3 separate regions of the Homo sapiens genome follow, and regions 2 and 3 are each linked to region 1. The links are contacts of gene promoters, found by promoter capture Hi-C in blood cells and fetal thymus (Javierre and others, 2016). All regions are on one chromosome and are shown on one strand. The core of a region is centred on a gene start or on the middle of the fragment in contact, and the rest is flanking DNA. Distances in the headings are between cores, read along the strand shown. Region 1 holds the start of FKBP3 (FKBP prolyl isomerase 3). Region 2 has its middle 28 kb from the start of DORIP1. Region 3 has its middle 29 kb from the start of LINC02302.

Region 1 (4,416 bases), core at 1,672-4,171:
TGGAGGTTGCAGTGAGCCGAGATCGCACCACTGCATTCCAGCCTAGGTGACAGAGCAAGACTCTGTCTCAAAAAAAAAAAAAAAAAAAAAAAAATCCTAGCTGTCTGACACTAGACAGGGGACTAAGCTTGTCTAAAGACTCAGCCTCCATATCTGTAGTGGAAGATTAATAACAGCGTCTACGTCAAAGAGTTGATATAAGGATAAAATGCAAAAATCCATTTAATGCATTTAGCATAGAGCCTGTCACACAGTAAGAACTTAATAAATATTGGGATTATGATTAATACTGTATTTAATAACTCAAGGTAACAGCGGAATTGCTTTTCTTTCAAATATAAGACTGCTAAGATGGCAGATGGACACTAAAATACTACTGCTGAAATAGCAAGTCGTAGTATAACTTTATCTGAAAATCACGTAATTGTGAGGATTTCCATAACTTCTTTGTTTCCTTATTTTATTCTGCTTCTTTTTCTGCCTTGTGGTCCTTGCTTAATTCCTAATTTTGTTACATTCTCAAAGTTGTCCTTTGGCATCTTCTAAGCTTTTGATAAAGCAGTTAACATTATTAGCAGTTAACAGCTAACACTATCACTATTGTATTTTTTTCTTTTGCTTTTTCTTTCAAAGATATGTTCTAAATAACAGCTGATGGGGAAAGGAGACAAAGTTGACTAAACGGAAGTAATCAGTTACCTTTAGCATGCTGGTGGTTTCTTGTTAAAGATTCCAGAAAATACCCAAAGCATAAAAGCATAAACATCTCTTTGATATCTTATGATTAATAAAATAATTATTGTCAAGTATAGGTCTAAGTGTTAATGATCACCGGAGATTATTATTATTAATTTTTGAGACAGAGTCTAGCTCTGTCGCCCAGGCTGGAGTGCAGTGGCCCAATCTCGGCCCACTGCAACCTCCCCCTCTTGGGTTGAAACGATTCTCCTGCCTCAGCCTCCCGAACAGCTGGGATTAGAGGCGCCCACCACCAGGCCCAGCTAATTTTTTTTGTATTTTTAGTAGAAATGAGGTTTCGCTACGTTGGCCAGGCTGGTCCTCAATGCCTGGCCTCAACTGTTAGTCAGGATGGTCTCGATCTCCTGACCTCGTGATCCGCCCGCTTTGGCCTCCGAAAGTGCTAGGATTACAGGAATGAGCCACCACGACCGACCGAGACTATGCATTTAAAAGATTAATGTTATAAAAACATTTTGATAATCCAAGTCTGTTGAAATTCTTCCACGTGGCCCAGTTTTACATACGATTCCACATGGCATGATTTGTTTCATAAGAATATGATGGATGAAGTACATGACTGAGGTATTATTAAATGTTAATGATGTCTATTCTATTGTTTCAGATGAAATACGAATTGGCTTAAGAGAAAATAGTTCCATTAAAATGGGGTAAGATCCCCGACACATGTTCTTTTTCACCCTTGTACCTCCAAACACTGAGAATAGTTCTTGTTACAGATGTTGTATTAATATCTGCTAAATTAATCTAAGATGCGGATGCCAGGATAATAATTAAGGAAGAAGGCACTGGAAGTTGGAGAGTTCTTCTATCTCCCTGTCATGACGCCCGCCCAAAATGAAAATAAAATATAAGCTTCTCAAAATAACCCAGAAATAGTGGCTCACGCCTGTAATCCCAGCACTTTGGGAGGCCGAGGCGGGCGGATCACGAGGTCAGGAGATCGAGACCATCCTGACTAACACGGTGAAATCCCGTCTCTATTAAAAATACAAAAAATTAACCTGGCGTGGTGGCACGCGCCTGTAGTCCTAGCTACTCGAGAGGCAGAGGCAGGAGAATCGTTTGAACCCGGGAGGCGGAGGTTGCAGTGAGCCGAGATCGCGCCACTGCACTCCAGCCTGGGCAACAGAGAGAGACTCCGTCTCAAACAAACAAACAAAAAAACCCAGAAACAGTTTTTCTAAATGAAAAGTTTAGAATTTTAAAAATTGTATAGAAAACACAAGCAGGCTGCCGCTTGTAAGAGAATGCTGCGTGCACAACTATTTCAGCAATTTAACAGGTGCATGAATGAACTTATTTTCCAAAGGAAAAACAAGTGTAACAAAAATAACTTGACTATAGACGGATGGTTAAGATGGAGACTATGCTGACAAATGGAGAGCCTACAGTATAAAGCATTTCAAATAAATTTCTTAGTCTGTTTATAACAATGACAGACCACTGCACAAGAGAAATGTGCATGTAGCTCCCTTAAAGTATAAAGGTGAAAAGGTCATTTAAAGGGTCGATATGTTAAATCAAAACTTAAACCACAACCTACGGATTTTTTAAAAATCACACGCATTAATGTTCAGTATTTAGTAAACTGTTGAGAAAAGCAAGTTGGATACACCGTTCCCACAGAAATCTTCACATCCCTTCCCATTTCCCTAGTAGCCGGCGCCCCGCTCCCAGGAGTCTCATCCACACCACTATTCCTCGGCCTCTCCGCCCTAGCCCCCAATATCCTCGGGTTCCTATTTTTCTGGCCTCCACCCCCACTCAAGGATCCCAATGAGGTTCTAACTCTACAATTGCAGCCTGTGTGCCCCAAGAAATAAAGCTGCTCCCCTGCCCCAGTAGAGAACGCCCGAGAGGCGGGAGCGAGGCACCAAAGCACAAGCTGGGCCTCTCCGGCCTTCCAGGCCACCGGCCGCGGGAAGACGAGGGCGGGGGCACAGAGGAATACGGAATGTATGGGCATCTCCAGGGGGGTGAGGCGTCCCTCAGCCGCACCAGCCCGGCCGCCCCTACGCCTCTGGTACCGAATCTGAACCGTGTTCCTGCAGAAACTTGATAATGTCCTTCTTGGGCAGCTGCTCACTGCGCAGCTGCTCCACGGTCCACGCCCGCTGTGGAACGGCCGCCGCCATCTTCCCCCGCTGCCTCCGCTTTACTGAGCCAGCCCGCCGCAGTTCGGCATCGCCCCGCCCCCTAGGGCGGGGCGGGGCCACTCACGGAGGTCGAGGGGCGGGCCTCTGCTCTAGCAGTCGGGATTGGGGCCTGTCTTTGAGTGACGTCAAGGCTGTGCTATGAGGGCTTCTTTGTTGAGTCCGGGTTGAAAAACCTACCGCGGTCGTCTCTGCAGTCGACTGAGTAGAAGACCGCTAGAGATCTTCGATTCTGAATTAGACACCTTGTGAAGCGACCTCTGATGGTAGCGACATTTATCAACCATTACCCACATTTAAGGCAGCTATGCCTTTAAAGTCCAGTCTATAACCTGTTAAAAGAAAACAGCATTCAGGCTCCTTATCTCGTTTTATCTAGTTCTAGCCTAAAAAGTCACACCTGAAGTGCTTCAGTCCTTGTCGATCCGAAAACCCATATCCCACCATTTCCCTTTTAAAGATCACACAACCGAAACTTAAATACAAACTGCCCATCCCCTTCCCCCCATACAAATACGAGAAAGTTTGTCCAAAACGAAGTTCAGAAACTTTAACAAATAAAACAATTTATAAAGAAGCCGCACTCAGGATGCCACTTGCTGATGAGAATGACATTATTAATGCTCGTAACTCTGTGATGTATATTTTTTTCTCAGTACACGAGGAAACAAATTTACAGAGGTTACTCAAAGTCAGGTTTAGAGAGAAGTCAGGAATTATTTGAGACAGAAATCTTCGTTAGAGTGGAATAATTGCACACCGACGTTTATTATAATGCTCTTACCTATAATAAAGATTTAATAGTTGAACATCAGGACTCCTTACTTAAAAAAATGTAGGCTGACTCTGGGCATGTTGCCTATGAGTTAGCTCTGCTTTGCAAGGAGCATTAAAAAAAAAAATTCTGACGAATAGCTGGACCAGACCACGTTCACTTCCCTTTAAACAATGAAAATATTAAAATAATGGGTTGCCACTCCCAGCGCGGTGAAAAAGAGACTTGGCATTTTGTTTTCTCAGCCCAGATAGAGATATAAGACAAATTATTCCATCTACACATTTTTGCTTTTCACTTTATATTCTGATTTAAAAGTACAAGGAATGAGGCACGTTAGACGCTCAATAACATTAAGTTCCCAAACTGGTGGCTATTCCATTGTCCCCGGGTATGTAATATTTTACAATAAATCTCTATTATAACATTTTAAGTGATTTATCACGTTAGCAATGACGCCCAGCCATCTAATCATTGGAAACGGAACTTAAATTTAGAGTTTGTTAAAACAAAACACCGGAACCGCACCGGGGACCATATTTAGAGTAACGCCTTAATAATGCGCATGAGTCTCCGGCAGGGCTGTGAAGGTTTCCGGGAAGCCAGCCAATCATTCCCAACGGAAACTCAGTAGCGGCATTTTCAACTGGATAAACTGGCCTTAGTCCCGCCTTCTCGTTCCAGAGTTTTGTGCGAAGGAAACCGATGGGGATCGGAACCGTAGCG
Region 2 (4,445 bases), core at 398-2,897, 270 kb before region 1:
GGGACCACAGATGCCAGCCTGATGCTGGAGCAGGCCTTGGGTCTGGGGCTGCAGGGACTGACCTGAAGCCTGAGACCATAGGGGCTGGCCTTGTGCCCGTGTTCACTGGACCAGACCTGGTGCTGGGATCCACAGTGAAGTCTGCTCACTACACTCTCTTTCCCTCATGTGATGGGTCTCTTTCTGCACTGCACTGTTTAGGTTTGGGGGAGCAGTGATGCTGGCAACATGAAACTGTCCTTCCTACCCTCTTAAATATGCCTTTTCTTATATCCGTGCTCTACCCAGGTGCTGTAATCTCTCATCTGGATTCCTTGGCTCTTACAAAGGTATTTTTGTACATGCGTGGTTGTTCAAATTGATGTTTCTTCAAGGGGATGAGTGCCAGAAACTCATATTCTGCCATCTTGCTGATGTCAGCTCCTCTAATACCCAAGACAGCAGAGGAACAACTGTTTTTTTCAGATAGAGCTCTGGACTTGAGGTTCTTTTTAAATAGAGACTTCATACAAAAGATCTCCAGTCTGTCTACATTTTCAAACATAGAATCTATAATTCAGTGACTGCCAGGTTCTCAAAAAACTGTTAGTTCTTTACCCATCAATCCCAGAAGATTCATTAATCAGGGAGTAATTGGGATATATCACCAGGCTAGGAGTTCTCTACCATCAATGAACAGAAGAGGAGGTATATAGTCCCAGCATTTCTCCTCTCACCTCTGTACCCTCTCCTCCTTAGATGATTCAATTCACTCCAAGGATAAAAGTGGAGAAATCTATTAGAAGCAAAACTGCACATTCTGGATAAGACAAATCCAGGGAAAGATGGGCTGTGATGCCTTCCTACTCCGTTAACCTACTTTAAATAGAATGTTTAATCTTAAATATGTTCTCATTACTCTGGACTTAAGCTTAGAACCCTGTTCCTAAAGAAGGAAATGTGGCTTAGAAAAATAACAAATTTATAACCAATCATTGCAGGCACCCGCTGGACTTGGCAAACCATAGATGCACAGGAACACTTTGTAATATTTTTGCAACTTTCCTATAAGTTGGAAATTATCTCCAAACAAAAAGTTTTAGAAAAAAATTCATAGATCTGAGGTTGTCAAAGGTCTTCTAGGAAATGAGAATGTCCAGTGTTTAATTAGAGCTTTTTGCATTGCTAACATATAAATCCCTCTGAACCCATCCCAATTTTTGAGTAAACTCAACTACACATAAAAATGACAGTGAGAGTGAGCAGTTGAGTCACCCCTGGGTAACTGTCATGAAGGAAAGAACACATGTGAAATAGCAAGATAATCCATAAATCGTTCTAATTCAGCAGACAGTGTAGAGGAATATAAAGAACCACAAGGATCTGCAATCATGGGAACCACTTTGTGTTTCCACAGGAAGTAAAATAAAGATTTGAGACAACATTATATGGATATTCAGGAATCAGGCCCCCACAGTGGTTGGCATTTAGTCCACATGTTAGAAGTTCTTAGTTCAGTGTGGTATTTGGTAAATGTTATCTATTGACAGTATTGTTTAAAATTGGAGCACAGGTAGGAAGGTCCATCTGCAGCAACATAGGAAGGAGAAAGAGCCAGGACCTGGTAAGTGATCTGCCCAGTAGTTTCTAGGGGAAATAACTGGGAAAAGGAGAAACTGCAAAACTCAAAGGATCATCCACGACATTCAGCAGCCTCAGGCAAAATTCCAGAATCAGTTTTTACCAAGATGAGCCTAAGGTGAATTGTAGAATCTCAAGAATAGATAAAACTCAGTAGCTTAAAATCCATGCTTAAAACTCCAGATAAGCAAATAAGCAATGGGTTTTTCTGCAGGATATCTGCCCTAGGTTTTCAAGGCTATGAGTGAGGTTATGCACAGGCTATGAGTACCAATGCACATAGGACTCATAGCCAAATAAGAAATAAAATACCGCATTATTAATGCTTGGGCAAGCAAATGATACTCCCTGTTGCTGGGCTTTTCAGTTAAATTGAAAGAATATTCTCTTCAAAAAATGGTGCTGGGACAAATGGATATCCACATGCAAAAGAATAAAATTGTACTCCTATCTCACACTATATAGAAAATTAACTCAAAAAGATCAAAGACCTAAATTTGAGAGCTAAAATGTAATAGAGTCTAATTCCATTTTTTGATGTTCGACTGCAAATAACTTTTAAGCCTATCCATGACTCTTCCCTTCTTCCACATGTCTGGGAAAGCTGATAAAGCTCAGATGCTGTCACCTTTAGTGTCATCAGGGGATTGAAATTGAAACACATAAGCTCCTGTTTGTCTGCAGGAACCCTCGCCCTGGCCCAATCCCCCACAATAGAAATCTCTAGCCAGTCTCCTTTCCTTGCCTTTCAATCCATTTTCAGACAAGCTTGAGAAGCCTTCCCTGCTTTCATCCAAAATCCTCATAATAAAACTTTTTCACACTGTTGAGGTGTGTGTGTGTGTGTGTGTGTGTATGTGTGTGTGTGATCATCAGTCTTGACATCTAAATCAAATTTTGAGTGGTAATCTAGCCTGTACCTATGGAGTAGTCACAAAAGTTGATGCTGTGAGCCAGACTGTATCAATGTTGACCACCACCACTAGGGATCTTCCTTCTCTTGTTCTTGTCTTAACTGGGTACAAACCACTGCACCTAGCATGTAGGATATTTCCTCTGCTTGCTGGCAAGCTTGCACTTTGAGTTTTGCTGTACTGCGCAACATGTGTCGAGTCCTACAAAACCCCTGTTAAAAATTTAGCTCCAATAGGCCAGGTGCGGTGGCTCACACCTATAATCCCAGCACTTTGGGAGGCCGAGGCAAGTGGATCACGAGGTCAGAAGATTGAGACCATCCTGGCTAATACAGTGAAACCCTGTCTCTACTAAAAACACAAAAAAATTAGCCGGGTGTGGCGGTGGGCACCTGTAGTCCCAGCTACTTGGGAGGCTGAGGCAGGAGAATGGTGTGAACCCAAGGGGCGGAGCTTGCAGTGAGCCAAGATCGCACCACTGCACTCCAGCCTGGGCAACCCAGCAAGACTCCGTCTCAAAAAAAAAAAAAAAATAGCTGAAATAGGTCAGAAGTTTTTATATTTGCATTTGGGGATAAAAGTACAGTATTGGGGCCCTCCATAAAGTGGTCTTGGCTCATGTGTCTCAGGCTGGACCTATCTGTGTATCTTAGAATCCAGCTGTACCAGGTGCTGGGTTCTGGGAAAAGAATCTTACCCTGTAACCAGTTGGTTGTATCTCAACCTGGCACTGTCCCCTGGTCTATAAAATGCTTTTGGGAAAGACTATACTCTATGTGAGATATGACTCCATCAGTGGTTGCTCATAAAAGAACAATCATTAGGAAGAGATTTTGTTGTTGTTGTTGTTGTCATTATTTTTTACTTCAGTGACTCTGATAGGTGTAAAGAGCTATCTCACTGTGGTTTTCTTTTTTTTTTTTTTTTTTGTACTTTAAGTTCTGGGGTACATGTGCACAACGTGCAGGTTTGTTACATAGGTACACATGTGCCATGTTGGTTTGCTGCACCCATTAACTCATTATTTACACTAGGTATTTCTCCTAATGCTATCCTTTCGCCACCCCGACAGGCCCCGGTGTGTGATGTTCCCCTCCCTGTGTCCATGTGCTTTCACTGTTCAACTCCCACTTATGAGTGAGAACACACGGTGTTTTGTTTTCTGTTCTTGTGTTACCTTGCTGAGAATGATGGTTTCCAGTTTCATCCATGTCCCTGAAAAGGACATGAACTCATCCTTTTTTATGGCTGCATAGTACTCCATGGTGTATATGTGCCACATTTTCTTTATCCAGTCTATCATTGATGGGCATTTGGGTTGGTTCCAAGACTTTGCTATTGTGAATAGTGCTGCAACAAACATACCTGTGCATGTGCCTTTATAGTACAATGATTTATAATCCTTTGGGTATAAACGCAGTAATGGGATTACTGGGTCAAATGGTATTTCTAGTTCTAGATCCTTGAGGAGTCACCACGCTGTCTTCCACTATGGTTGAACAAATTTGCACTCCCACCAACAGTGTAAAAGCATTCCTATTTCTCCACATCTTCTCCAGCACCTGTTGTTCCCTGACTTTTTAATGATTGCCATTCTAACTGGTGTGAGATGGTATCTCATTGTGGTTTTGATTTGCATTTCTCTAATGATCAGTGATGATGAGCATTTTTTCATAAGTTTGTTGGATACATAAATGTCTTCTTTTGAGAAGTGTCTATTCATATCCTTTGCCCACTTTTTGATAAGGTTGTATGTTTTTTTCTTGTAAATTTGTTTAAGTTCTTTGTATATTCTGGATATTAGCCCTTTGTCAGATGGATAGATTGTAAAAATTTTCTCCCATTCTGTAAGTGGCCTGTTCACTCTGATGATAGTTTCTTCTGCTGTGCAGAAGCTCTTTAGTTTAATTA
Region 3 (4,387 bases), core at 1,625-4,124, 310 kb before region 1:
CTATCTCATGCCAGTCAGAATGGCGATTATTAAAAAGTCAATAAACAATAGATGCTGGTGAGGCTGTGGAGAAACAGGAACAGTCTTTTACACTGTTGGTGGGAATGTAAATTAGTTCAACAATTGTGGAAGACAGTGTGGCGATTCCTCAGAGATCTAGAACCAGAAATACCATTTGACCCAGCAATCTCATTCCTGGGCATATACCCAAAGAAATATAAATCATTCTATTATAAAGATACATGGATGCGTATCTTCACTGCAGAACTATTCACAATAGCAAAGACATGGAATCAACCCAAATGCCCATCAATGGTAGACTGGATAAAGAAAATGTGGTACATATACACCATGGAATACTATGCAGCCATAAAAAGGAACAAGATTATGTCCTTTGCAAGGACATGGATGGAGCTGAAAGCCATTATTCTCAGCAAACTAACACAGGAACAGAAAACTAAACACCACATGTTCTCATGGTAGCTGTACAATGAGAACACATGGACACGGAGAGAAACAACACAAACTGGGGCTTGTCAGGGGTACAGGGGGAGGGAGAGTATCAGGATAAATAGCTAATGCATGTGGGGCTTAATAACTAGGTGATAGGTTGATAGATGCAGCAAACCATCATGGCACATGTTTACCCATGTAACAAACCTGCACATCCTGCACATGTATCCCAGAACTTAAAAAGGCACTCCAGAACTGTGGCCTAAGATTCTTCAGACTGGATCAATAAAACAAGCCTCAACAAGTTCTTAAATTCTACCTTAGATGGTCATATTGCTTTTTGGTTTTGCTTAGAAATAAATAGATTGTTTCACCTCCACCACCACCCCTGGTATTAATCCAGGTACAAAACAAAGTGTTAGCAATGGTAAAGATTCCCCACTGGTTGACCCAAAGAAAACGTAAAGCTATTATTTCACTTGTAGTAATCTGGGCTAATTTAAATGTTTATTCTACTATATTATTTACAAATTTGGAGAAAAATTTGTGAGATTATCTGGGTTATTTAAGTCCTAGGAATGAAATTACTATTCCCCGAATGACGCTTCCACAGTTACTACTCCAAGTAAAGATCTTATCTCTTTAAATATTTTTAGAAAGAGGCCGGGCACAGTGGCTCATGCCTGTAATCCTAGCACTTTGGGAGACCTCACCTGAGGTCAGGAGTTGAGACCAGCCTGGCCAATATGGTGAAACCCCATCTCTACTAACAATACAAAAAAATTAGGTGGACGTGGTGGCAGGGGCTTGTAATCCCAGCTACTAGGAGGCTGAGGCAGGAGAAGGGCGTGAACCTGGGAGGCAGAGTTTGCAGTGAGCCGAGATTGCACCACTGCACTCCAGCCTGGGCGACAGAGCGAGACTCAGTCAAAAAAAAAAAGAAGATAATTATAGGTAAAGTTAATGTAACACATCTTTCTATCATTCTTTAAATTGGCTTCACTAGCAATAGCTTAAGAGAGCTGAATTACAGAGTTATGGTAATAATCACCCCTACATTCCTACACATTATTATAAGAGAATTATAATAAATTAAGTTAGAAATGTATAAATTTAAACCAGCAAAGAATAGTATGAAAGAATTTATCAAATAGATGTAACAACAGAAATGTAAATAATCTCTGTGCCAGCTCTACCCTTGGCAATTTATACTATACTCAGCAACAAAAGGGAAACAATTTAGAATGCTCAAGGGGAAACAAGTTGGAATGTTTCCAATCTTGGGGACCCAAGGTAAGGCAGTATGACTGACAGCCTGAGCTACTACCCGCCTAAGCTTTATTCTTAGCAGCCATGAACTACGTAAAACCAAAAAGTCATCCTTGCTTCATATGTGAATGGAGTTCAAATATCATGAACGAATGGAATAAGTCATTGAGTATTTTGAATACATGCTAATGAATGGACTGTAAACCATTTGGTCCTGCCTCAGAAACACCACCCCAGTGTACACTAATATCTGCATAGATCCTGCCCTTCTTCTCCTACTCTTTTCCACCCAAGGCATCATTTAACCAAAAGTAGAAAAACTCTGAAAGTGTGCTTTCAAATCATTCCTGCTTAGGCCATCAACTTTTCTTTAGCCTAATAATGATGTGTTTACAGACTGTGTTTCTGGGTGACCCATGTCTGTCTGAGAGGACCAGGGGAGGAAAAAGATCTTTAGGTCACAAGTGAAATAATTTGATGGATGATCCCTTGGGTGCATAGATTAATACCCTGAAATGCTTTCCCATCACACATATGCTGCCACTAAGAATGAAGCCACTGACTTCACTTTCTATTTCCTGATGTTATACTCAATGACCTCTGTTTCAGAGAATGCGTTAAAGAGCCAGAGCAGTGCAATCTCATGCAAGCAGCTTATAAGACAGCTATTGGAGCACTTCAATATAAATATGAGAGGGAAAAAAAATGGCACCTAGGAGCAGGACCAAGAGATACAGACTAGAAATTGGGTCTTGTCACAGGACTAGAGAAAATGGATTAGGATATTGAGCGAGGAACTGACATTTGGAGGCTCTTCAGTTGGAATCCCTTCCAGTTTCCAAAGTGCAGCCAAAAATGTGGGCAAAGCTGTCAAGGTTATGCTTTGCAATACTCTTCTAACCTTTGTGGAGCTGATGTAAATGATTTTACTCCATAAAATTAGGTTCTTAGTTTACATAGCAAAAGACACAAAAACTAAGGTGAATCAAGGTGGTGAAGCAGAGAAACAAAACGACAACTTCCCAAGGCCCACGAAAGTTCAAAATTGGGGCACAGGTCCTTCTTTCCCACAATACCCAATACAGGATTAATTAGTCTGCTACAAACTGAATGTGTGTGTCCCTCTAAAATTTGTATGTTGAAACCTAATCCCTAATATGACGGTATTTGGAAGCAAGGCCTTTGGGAGGTGATTAAGTCATGAGAGCAGAGAACTCATGAATAGGATTAATGCCTTTATAAAAGAGACCCCAAGAGAGCTCCCTTGCCCTTTCTGTCATGTGAGAATACAGTGATAAGACAGGAATCTATAAACCAGCAAGGGTGCCCTCAGCAGACACAGAATCATCCAGTGCCTTGATCTTGGATTTCCCAGTCTCCAGAACTGTGAGAAATAAGTATTTGTTGTTGTTAAACCACCCAATCTATGATATTCTGTTATAGCAACCCAGATGGACTAAGACAGACAAAATCTAAGGATGACCAAAGGAGACACATTCAAGCTCACATTCAGGGATGGAAAGTAAGAAGGAAAGATGTAAAAGAACAATAGACCCTTTGAAATGGGAGACCAGATCCTCATAGGCATCTACAATCTCTTTATAAAGAGACAGTAGGCACCCTTCAGCAGACCTTAATCCAGTGCAGCAGTGGCATTTGCACACAGACCCAGCCAAGAGCACCAGGGAAAAGCTGGAATACTAAGCCTGCAATAAGCACTGCCCAGTACGAAGAATACCTTTTAAAATTAGAGGGTCCTGAAGCAGACATTTCTGCCAAATCTCAGGGTTGGCCTCAGGCCTTCAAACAAGTTACATAAAACAGAGAAGCTATATTCTCAGGAAAAATAGCTAATGCATGCTGGGCTTAATACCTAGGTGATGGGTCGATAGGTGCAACAAATCACCATGACACATATTTACCTATGTAACAAACCTGCACATCTTGCACATGTACCCTGCAACTTAAAATAAAAAATAAAATAAAAGAGAGAAGCTATGCTTTTTTTGCCACACACTGACCTGCGAATGGTGTGAAATATACTGCTTTAGCCTGAATTGAATATGATTCCAGGTGTGCCTGAACAGCTCTCAGCAAATCTGCCTCTTGCACAGCACACTACTCTTCCCTTCCCTGGACCTGAAGGTGGTACATGGCCATTATAGACAAGATGCTAAAACCTACAGCAAGCAAAAACAAAGGCATTTTTTTTTTACCCCTTATAGACTGGAGCCTTGACAAGCTTTCTTTCTTCTTGAGTATACTACAAGGTACTTTTTTGTCTTTCCATAAACAACAACCAAAGAGAAAGAGAGAGAAAGTAAGCACTTTGTTTATAGAAGTCAATTTTTTTTAATTTAGCAAACACTGAGCACCTATTTTTGCCAGGCATTTTAGGAAACATCTTAAAAAATAGCATAAATCTAAAAATCAGATGGTACTTCCAGCTAAAGCCTTCCAGAATTTTGTTGTTTTCGAATTGGAAGTGCTAGGGAATGTTAGGAACAGATGGTCTCAAAAGGATATCAGAAAATGGGTGCCCCAGGAATGAGAATGTGATTGCTCTTACCATCTATTGCCTAAAACATCACAGTAAATTCCAAATTGGTGCCTCTGCATCCTTTCCATTATCGCCTTTCAAATCCATTCTTCTCATGCTATCAAA

Evidence for each region. The method cuts DNA at HindIII sites, captures the fragments that hold promoters and counts their contacts. A CHiCAGO score of 5 or more calls a contact.
Region 2: a contact is called between a fragment that was not itself captured here and the fragment with the promoter of FKBP3 in region 1, in 4 of 17 cell types (total B cells, naive CD4 T cells, total CD4 T cells and 1 more). The highest score is 8.3, in total B cells.
Region 3: a fragment that was not itself captured here is called in contact with the fragment with the promoter of FKBP3 in region 1 in 1 of 17 cell types (non-activated CD4 T cells); the score reaches 5.9 in non-activated CD4 T cells.

The regions. Positions count from the first base shown.
Region 1 is chr14:45,131,560-45,135,975 of GRCh38, forward strand. It overlaps FKBP3 (FKBP prolyl isomerase 3), which reads right to left and starts at 2,922. Exons shown (of 7, transcript NM_002013.4): 1 at 2,790-2,922. The coding sequence starts at 2,897. FANCM (FA complementation group M) reads left to right here and starts at 4,371. Exons shown (of 23, transcript NM_020937.4): 1 at 4,371-4,416. RefSeq lists enhancers at 2,120-2,991, 2,679-2,898, 2,992-3,862 and a silencer at 2,868-3,045. The HindIII fragment of the contact is 3,907 bases long and covers 1,613-4,416 here.
Region 2 is chr14:44,866,929-44,871,373 of GRCh38, forward strand. No RefSeq gene overlaps it. Among named protein-coding and RNA genes, the nearest start is that of DORIP1, 28 kb to the right of the region's middle. The HindIII fragment of the contact is 1,478 bases long and covers 909-2,386 here.
Region 3 is chr14:44,825,919-44,830,305 of GRCh38, forward strand. No RefSeq gene overlaps it. Among named protein-coding and RNA genes, the nearest start is that of LINC02302, 29 kb to the left of the region's middle. The HindIII fragment of the contact is 2,175 bases long and covers 1,788-3,962 here.